Regions from separate parts of the Homo sapiens genome. Here region 1 is linked to region 2. The links are contacts of gene promoters, found by promoter capture Hi-C in blood cells and fetal thymus (Javierre and others, 2016). All regions are on one chromosome and are shown on one strand. The core of a region is centred on a gene start or on the middle of the fragment in contact, and the rest is flanking DNA. Distances in the headings are between cores, read along the strand shown. Region 1 overlaps RIC1 (RIC1 partner of RAB6A GEF complex). Region 2 holds the start of INSL4 (insulin like 4).

Region 1 (3,857 bases), core at 1,164-3,663, 520 kb before region 2:
AAAATAAACCAACTATTTCAACACAAGATCCTTTATCAAATATCAAGTATTTTATCAGAATCAAATCTTACATATTATTCAATATCACTTTTTTATATCTGATTTTCCTTATTTTTAATAAGTAACCAAAATTACTTAGTGATAAACTTTATAGCTATTTCATATTGTAGTTCTCTTATACTTTGAGAAATAGGTTTTTAATCTCAAAAAAGACTAACCTGGGTAATGTTTCCAAAAAGTTTCCATTTTTTGGTGAGTAAAGAGTAATGTGCAAAACCAAACTTGCCAACCACAGCAATATTCTGTCCAAGCTTATCAATAGCTGAAAACTGTTTAAAAAAAAAAATAAGAACTTTTCCTTGCAAACCTATATACTTTATTAGGCATAAAGAGCTTAGTATTGTGTCAGGCAAACAGACAATTAATAAATGTTTGCTAATTAAATATTTTAAAGTCCAAATATTCAGTTATATCTGACAAAATTATAGATGTTAATATACTAGCAATGTTACAATAGATCAAGAGTTTTATTTTTCTCAGTACACCCACTGAAGGGCTCTTCCCAGAATGCCTCTTGCAGCAAATGCTAGTCAACAAAAGTTAACACCAACAAAATAACAACTCACCCGTATAGGCCAATTGCTCTCTAGATAGGTGCTGGAAATCTATAGAAAATAACACATCAGATTGGTAAAACTTATGAAATATATTTAAACTTAAAGCATTAAGTTATCACACTATGAGATTCATCTTGCCGAACAATGTTTAAGGTGCCCCCTAGTTAGTAGCAGAGCACTTGGAATTTACCATTTGTATATGAATCAATGTTTTACATCTTACGTTATTTCATGTTTCTAGGCACCAGGCTTTCCTCTCCCTGCCCCTTGCCCCTTATGTTTCTGTTTGTTTTAAATATTGAATTCAATAAATACAGACTGACAAGAGATTTTCAGAGAAGGCACCTGTGAGGGCAGCTATGAATTGTGCAGATGAACAGTTTGGGTTTGCTGATATAAACCATTCCAAAACAACCTAATCTAATACAATTACAGCCTCAGAAAAAGTTCTGGTTTTTAATGGAAATATTTTTATTACTTTTACACTTTTCTGATTAAAACAGCAATGCTTAGGCCAGGTGTGGTTGCTCACGCCTGTAATCCCAGCACTTTGGGAGGCCGAGGCAGGTGGATCACCTGAGGTCAGGAGTTTGTGACCAGCCTGACCAACATGGCGAAATCTCGTCTCTATTAAAAATACGAAACCGTGCATGATGGTGCATGCCTGTAGTCCCAACTACATGGGAGACTGAGGCAGGACAATCGCTTGAACCCGGGAGGCAGAGGTTGCAGTGAGCCAGGATCGCGCCACTGCACTCCAGCCTGGGGAATAAGAGCGAAACTCCGTCTCCAAAAAAAAAAAACAAAAAAAAACTTATGAAATTATGCAATATAAAAATTGACAAAATGAAATTCTCTGTTACTTAGGTACAACCACTGGTTAGCTTTTATTCTATCTCTAAACAAACATATATATATGTACATGAAAGAGTGTATGTAAGCTATTATTTTTCTATTGGGGTATTTGACTTACTTATCTACAAGAACTTTTAATATATTACAAATATTAACTCTATCTGCAAGAAAAGGCGTTCATTTTTCCACGTTGTCTGTCTTACATCTTTGAACATGGTGTCTTTGTATCACCCTAACAACACCTTTCAATTTAAATAATTGACATGGGATATCAATGTAGATAAAGTAAATTTTCGTTTTAATGAGATTGATCTCTCTAGCCTGCTGATTAGTTTTCATGAGCACATGTTGGAGTGGGGCGAGAATTAACAGAACTGAACAAAGAGTCTTCTGTTCTTGGAATAAGAAAAGCTTCGATCTGTTCAAATTTATTTTTCATTTTACTCTAAGAAAAGTTGTCACATATTGAAAAACTAAATGCCAAATTAAAAAGCTAAGTCAACAGCAATCAAACCCAGTAAGATTGTGTATGTAATGTGAAGACAGAAAATTAAGTAAAAGCAATATGCTCTAAACATCTGTATTAACCTTGATAAAATTTGATAAAACTGTTTGTTATACTTCACTTATTATCAAGTGCTTTACTTACTAATTATTTGTTATACTTATTAAGTTGACTTAAGTCAACTTAAAATCCAACTAAATCAATAGCTTAATAAATTAATAAAATTCACTATGGGCCAGGCACCGTGGCTCATGCCTGTAATCCCAGCACTTTGGGAGGCTGAGGCAGGCAGATTGCCTGAGGTCAGGAGTTTGAGACCAGCCCGGCCAGCATGGTGAAACCCGTCTCTACTAAAAATACAAAAATTAGCCAGGCGTGATGGCAGGTGCCGGCAATCCCAGCTACTCGGGAAGCTGACGCAGGAGAATCACCTGAACCCTGGAGGCGGAGGTTGCAGTGAGCCGAGATTGCACCACTGCACTCCAGCCTGGGCAACAGAGTGAGACTCTGTCTCCCTGCCCCCCAGACCCCCAAAAAGATCACTATGATGGGTAAAATTAGTTCAGAATAATGGTACACTTAAGGTAATGATTGGGTGGTGAAATAAAACTTGAAAGCATTTTCAACTTTTTTCAGCAGTCACTCACAGCAGGAGGATGTACCTGAGTATAACTGTGTCAATCATCCATTGCACTAAAAGGAATCCTTACCTCCCTCAAACCTTGGTGTTTCATGAGTACTTATGAAACGTGTGGGTGGGTAATGGAGGAGCTGGGATCTTACTGCAAAAGTGGATTCTAACACAAAGAGTTTCTAATAATGGGAACCAAAGTTAAATCTTATCAAATGATCACACTATGATCAATATCTATAAAACAATTTATTCTTTATTCTACAAAAATCTATGAAGTGCCACAAATGATGTATTTTAAAAACTTAAGGTGTTAAGTTTAGAATGAAGCTTTATTTTTCATGCAGTTTGTGTCTAAAGATACTATGTATTTTCTCCAGTAGGTCAACTTTATTGATCTATGTGTCATCTGAACTCTGAGCTCTACCTCTAATACTTGATAAAAGGGAATGGCAGAAGTAAGGAAGAGGCAGCTGATCAGTGACAAAAAAAACAGGTCATGAAAGCACACTCAGGGCACTGAAGTCATGCCACATCACTGGAAAACTGAGTGCTAAGGTACAGAAACTCTACCCTTATCTTAGAATGTTTCAGTTTCTCTTAAAGAAACTGAATCCGCCCTCATTTGTTATTATGATTTTTAAATTTTAAAGTAACTCTGCTAAAACTCTGTCTCCTGCCTAGATTAGTTTTGTCTATAACTAGTGAGACTGTGGGAGCCATCCTCCTAGCAGATTTGTTCTGTGCCAAATACCTGGTACACTTGATACATACTGTAGGAAGACAGTAAATAATTTATGAATGAAAGAGCCTTTAAATACTCTCTGTTGAAATCCCTAACATAGTGCCTGATACCCTGTAGGTGCTTATCTTCCACATTTTGTGAAGCTTATTCTTTCTAAATAGCCAAGCTAACCATCAAACCAACACCCTCAGAACAATGGATAATAGATTTATGTACCTTTCAGAAGTAAATGCTTACATCATACAAAATACTGAGCATTAAAATAAATGGCAGTCTTAGAAGGAACATGGCCTAAAACTAGAAACTTTGTGTTCTGTAAAATTTCAATAGTTTGTGCCCCATATGTCAACAAATGACTTCAAAAGTTTTAAAACTTATAGGTAAGAAAAAACTTTTTAAAAAGCACCTTGGCTGGTGCTTGCTGGTGCTTGCTTTGGCTGGGTGCGGTGGCTCACGCCTGTAATCCCAGTACTTTGGGAGGCTGAGGCAGGTGGATCACAAGGT
Region 2 (3,922 bases), core at 166-2,665:
TGCATATGGGTTACAAGAAGCAGTTCTGGAGTCACACATTGCTGGTTCAAAACCTGTGTCATTTGTATTAAATGTAAAACAATGTTTAGTAATTTAACTTAGCTTTTCAGAACTTAATACGACCTATTAGACAGAATATAGTAGCCTCTATCTCTTTTCGAAACTGCCCCTGCTAGTTTTAACTTAGCTGGCAATTTATCTTTATGAATACCTTGTTACTTGGTAAAGTTTGAAAACTATCCTGGTATTGAACTTTCCTCAATTCTGAAATCTTGCTTTTAAAGAAAATGCTTTGCAGTCTCAAATGTTGAAAACACTAATCAAATCAGCTATGATGGTCTGAACAGTGAAATTCCCTTGTCTCTGGTCCCCTTCAATTTCCCCTCTAGTCATCCAGGCCACTTTCTTTCTCTTCATCTCATCTCTCTCAACACACTACAAGAGTAGATTCAAAGAAATGGGAGGCAAGGTGCTCTGTTGGTGTGCATTAAAAAAAACTTTTTTGTAAGAGGACGTTTTTGGTGACATAGACCACTGCCCAGCTTAATGACAAAGGATGAGAGTTATTAAATCTAAGCCCCCTTTATCTCACATTCCAGGAACCTAACAGAGGTCTCAGTGTGCTGCCCCTAGGCCAATAGGTGCATAAACAGAAATGATAATCAGCTCATCACCTCACTGTTTGTCCCCTTTCTTCTTAATTGAAGATGCCTGGCCCAGGCATCTCATTGCAATCACACCTGTTTTCTGGCCTGCCCAGCTTTCCTGGGGGTCTGGGAGTACACCTCACCTCCTGCTGGTGTTTGAGAATAGTCACCTTCTCTGAGGATTCCCTGTTTTCTCCACCCTGTATCTCTGGCTGCCAGGTGGGAAAGGCACCAAGAGCCTCCAAGGTGAGGCTGTTCTTCTGTTTTTCCTGCAGCTTCTCCTCTACCCCCAACTTCCCATGAGATTTCTGGTGAGACCCTTTTAATAAAAGCACATTACAATGAAAAACCACAAACTTGTAGGCACTAGCCACAGTAGAGTCTGAGTTGACTACAGGCAGTCAATGAGATCTGGAGCCTGTTTTTTCAGGCCTCATTCTGATTGTTTGGTAGTCCAGGGCTCTCACCTTTGGGACGTCCAGATTCCAGCAGCCACCCTCCTGGGGTGGTGGTGAATGTCTTCTCAGGCATGGGGCAATATGACAGCAAGTGTTTTCCAAATCGGGGACCACATCCCCTCAGCTCTGCTGCTAGGCTTTCTCTAAGGAGTTGGCTCAGCAGCAGCCAGATTGCTGGCAGATAGGACCGGAACAGGCTGGCCATCCTGGACCTGAACTCTCCTGTTCTGGGTGTTCTCAGCCTTTCTTTAGAGACTTGCTGCTGTAGCCTACCAGACTGTGCTGGTGTGTCCCTTCTGGGCTCCAGACTGCTTTCTGCATGCCTTCATCAGGCATTTATTTGCTTAGGGCTATTACTCAGCTTTTGCGTCAATGGTGTCAGTTCCACCCCTTTCCCACCCACCTACAAGGAACTTTCTCCCTCAGTTCTTATTTAGTCTCCCTACTTGCCCTACCCACACTCTCATATCCCTCTTTGCTCCCAATGTGCTGCTGCACTTTGCTTGTTTTGAATTTGGTTGTTCTACTTCTTTTTCTTAACTTTCCTCCTGTAATACTATTTTTATGCTTACTAAAATAATGGTAATTTTTAATGTCCTTTGCTTAGATGAAATAAAAATAGAACTGACCTGTAAGCTCATTGGCTAGAAATTATCTTAGTTAACATTTGGCATATAAGCTTTTAATTGCGGGGGTCTGTCCCACAGACCCTGACCCAACGACGGATGAATAACATACACTGACACAGATAGTTTGCCTGTCAGTCCAGCTGAGGGTCCGGGCCACCTACAGACACCAAGGAGGGTGCTGTAAAGAGTTGCAGCCGTGGCCCCGATCAGCCAGCAAAGCTCACATTTATTCAGCATAGATTAAATGACGAAGGTCTTGAGTAAACACCACTAGAAGGTAATTGACATTGCCAACCTCCCGAGTAGAGAGCAATTATGCACCCGCGGTTGATCAAAGATTAGTCTTAGGACCACATGAGTAAACAAACTAGATAAACTACATTCATTTGTATCTGTGCCTTAAGCTATTAACTCAAGGTAAGGATTAGGCTGCCTTCAGCCTGATCTATTACTGGAGCTTATACAAACCCCTCCGGCGTTTCAAAAAGGTTTGCGTCTTTTTCTTATAACTATCTGAAAAAATTTTCCCACCAGCCTGACTGAACTCTCACATCTCCCCCCTTTCTGTTCTTTGCATCGGGTTCTGTTGACTTAAGAGTACAGATGTGTGCAGCAACAGGTTTGTTAGGTTTTGCTTTTATTCCGGCTTTGCATCATAGAATTAGCAAATAACGTAAGACAATCATGAGTATAATTAGTAACATTCCTTTCCAGTCAAAGTGTGACCCCCAGGATCGGGGGTATAACCAGGAGAAATGATCTTGCACACCTTTCCATATGGCTGTTTGTTGAGTATGTAGATCTATCATGTGAAGGGATTCTAAAATTTTAGTTTTAAGTTGCTTTACGTCTGCTGTTAAATTGTCATGAAAGTTTCCCCAGAGGTGTTGTTTCACCTCATCCCAACTATGTATTGATTGATTCCAAGGTAAAAATGTGACACAGATATGTTTATGCTCCCAGTCACAGTTTAATTGCTATCAGAATGCTAGGGCATCTTGTCGCTCCCCCACAAATTCCAAGGCAGCCTCGAGGGCTTGCAGACGTGCAAGAATCTCTTGATCTATACCCTGCTGTAAGAGAAGTTCATTAGACACATTTCTGGCCAAATTGTCTACAAAAGCAGCTGTTTGCACTGATTCGGTAGTAGATGCTATAGCCACACTAGCAGTTGCTAGGATGACTATGGCTGAGACTATAAAGGTTATAAGTGTGCCTATAAATCTTTTGGGTCTGACCTGGGATAGGGCACATTCTAAGGTGGCAAAGGAAGAGGAACCTTGCCAATAGTGTGTCAAATTGACGGGTAGGAATGCCTCAGATTGTCTCCTTAATACCATGACACTAGTAGTATTTAAATTAGATATATTGTAATTAGTGGTACATGAGGCAAACAAAGCCTGTCCTTGCACCCGGGTCACAAACATGGAATTTTGGGTTGTAATAGAAATATTAGTTCCCATAAGGAAAACATATGGATGGAGTTGCAAATTAGGGACTGATCAGTGTGATTATGAATAAAGGTTATAGTATAGTTGTTACTGTAATTATGATATGTCCCATGCCAGGTGTCAAGGGAGGTGCTAAGATGTCCCAGGCAACATAAAGTGTCTTGGGGAGGCATCAACTTTACTCGGGGTCTGGGATATCCTATCCTCCCATCGGCCCAAATCATAAGGGAATGGGACGAGGCTATGAAACTGTGATCGATGCCATGATGGATGAGGATATCAGTAAGGCTGCCCTACAAATGGCCACAGGGGCTCCAGTCTAGGATGTTATAATTGCCTAACTGGAGGCTATGAGCTTATTCCCCATGACAGATCTCCCAGCTAAAGTGGAATCCGTTATTTTTCCGGCTTTGTTCTTTAGCACAGGAAGGAATGTTTGGGAAAGCAGACTTGATTTCCGTTTTGAGGCTACCTGCAGCTAAGACTGTTAAGGCACTTCTTTTGCCATGATGTAGCCATAATTGTGTTTCAGTAGGTGCACACTAAGGGTTAGAACATTTATAATTTACACACAATGGGAGGATAGTAGAGTGATCTGTAGTGTTATCTGGCACCTTAGTCCAATGTGTGCCATTATTGAGGAACCCCACTGGGGGTAAATCTATCCCTCCTAGCTAAGCAGTCACGTTATTAAAGGCTGGGAAGGGGTTGTATACCCAAGTGACAGGGCAAAAGAA

Evidence for each region. Contacts are between HindIII fragments. The CHiCAGO score rates a contact against its expected background, and 5 or more counts as called.
Region 1: a contact is called between a fragment that was not itself captured here and the fragment with the promoter of INSL4 in region 2, in 2 of 17 cell types (naive B cells and naive CD4 T cells). The highest score is 5.5, in naive B cells.

Annotation. Positions count from the first base shown.
Region 1 is chr9:5,750,008-5,753,864 of GRCh38, reverse strand. It overlaps RIC1 (RIC1 partner of RAB6A GEF complex), which reads right to left. Exons shown (of 26, transcript NM_020829.4): 13 at 627-665; 14 at 219-329. Among named protein-coding and RNA genes, the nearest start is that of ERMP1, 81 kb to the left of the region's middle. The HindIII fragment of the contact is 1,055 bases long and covers 1,886-2,940 here.
Region 2 is chr9:5,228,912-5,232,833 of GRCh38, reverse strand. It overlaps INSL4 (insulin like 4), which reads right to left and starts at 1,415. Exons shown (of 2, transcript NM_002195.2): 1 at 1,115-1,415. The coding sequence starts at 1,310. RefSeq lists a promoter at 1,321-2,138. The HindIII fragment of the contact is 5,637 bases long and covers 1-1,786 here.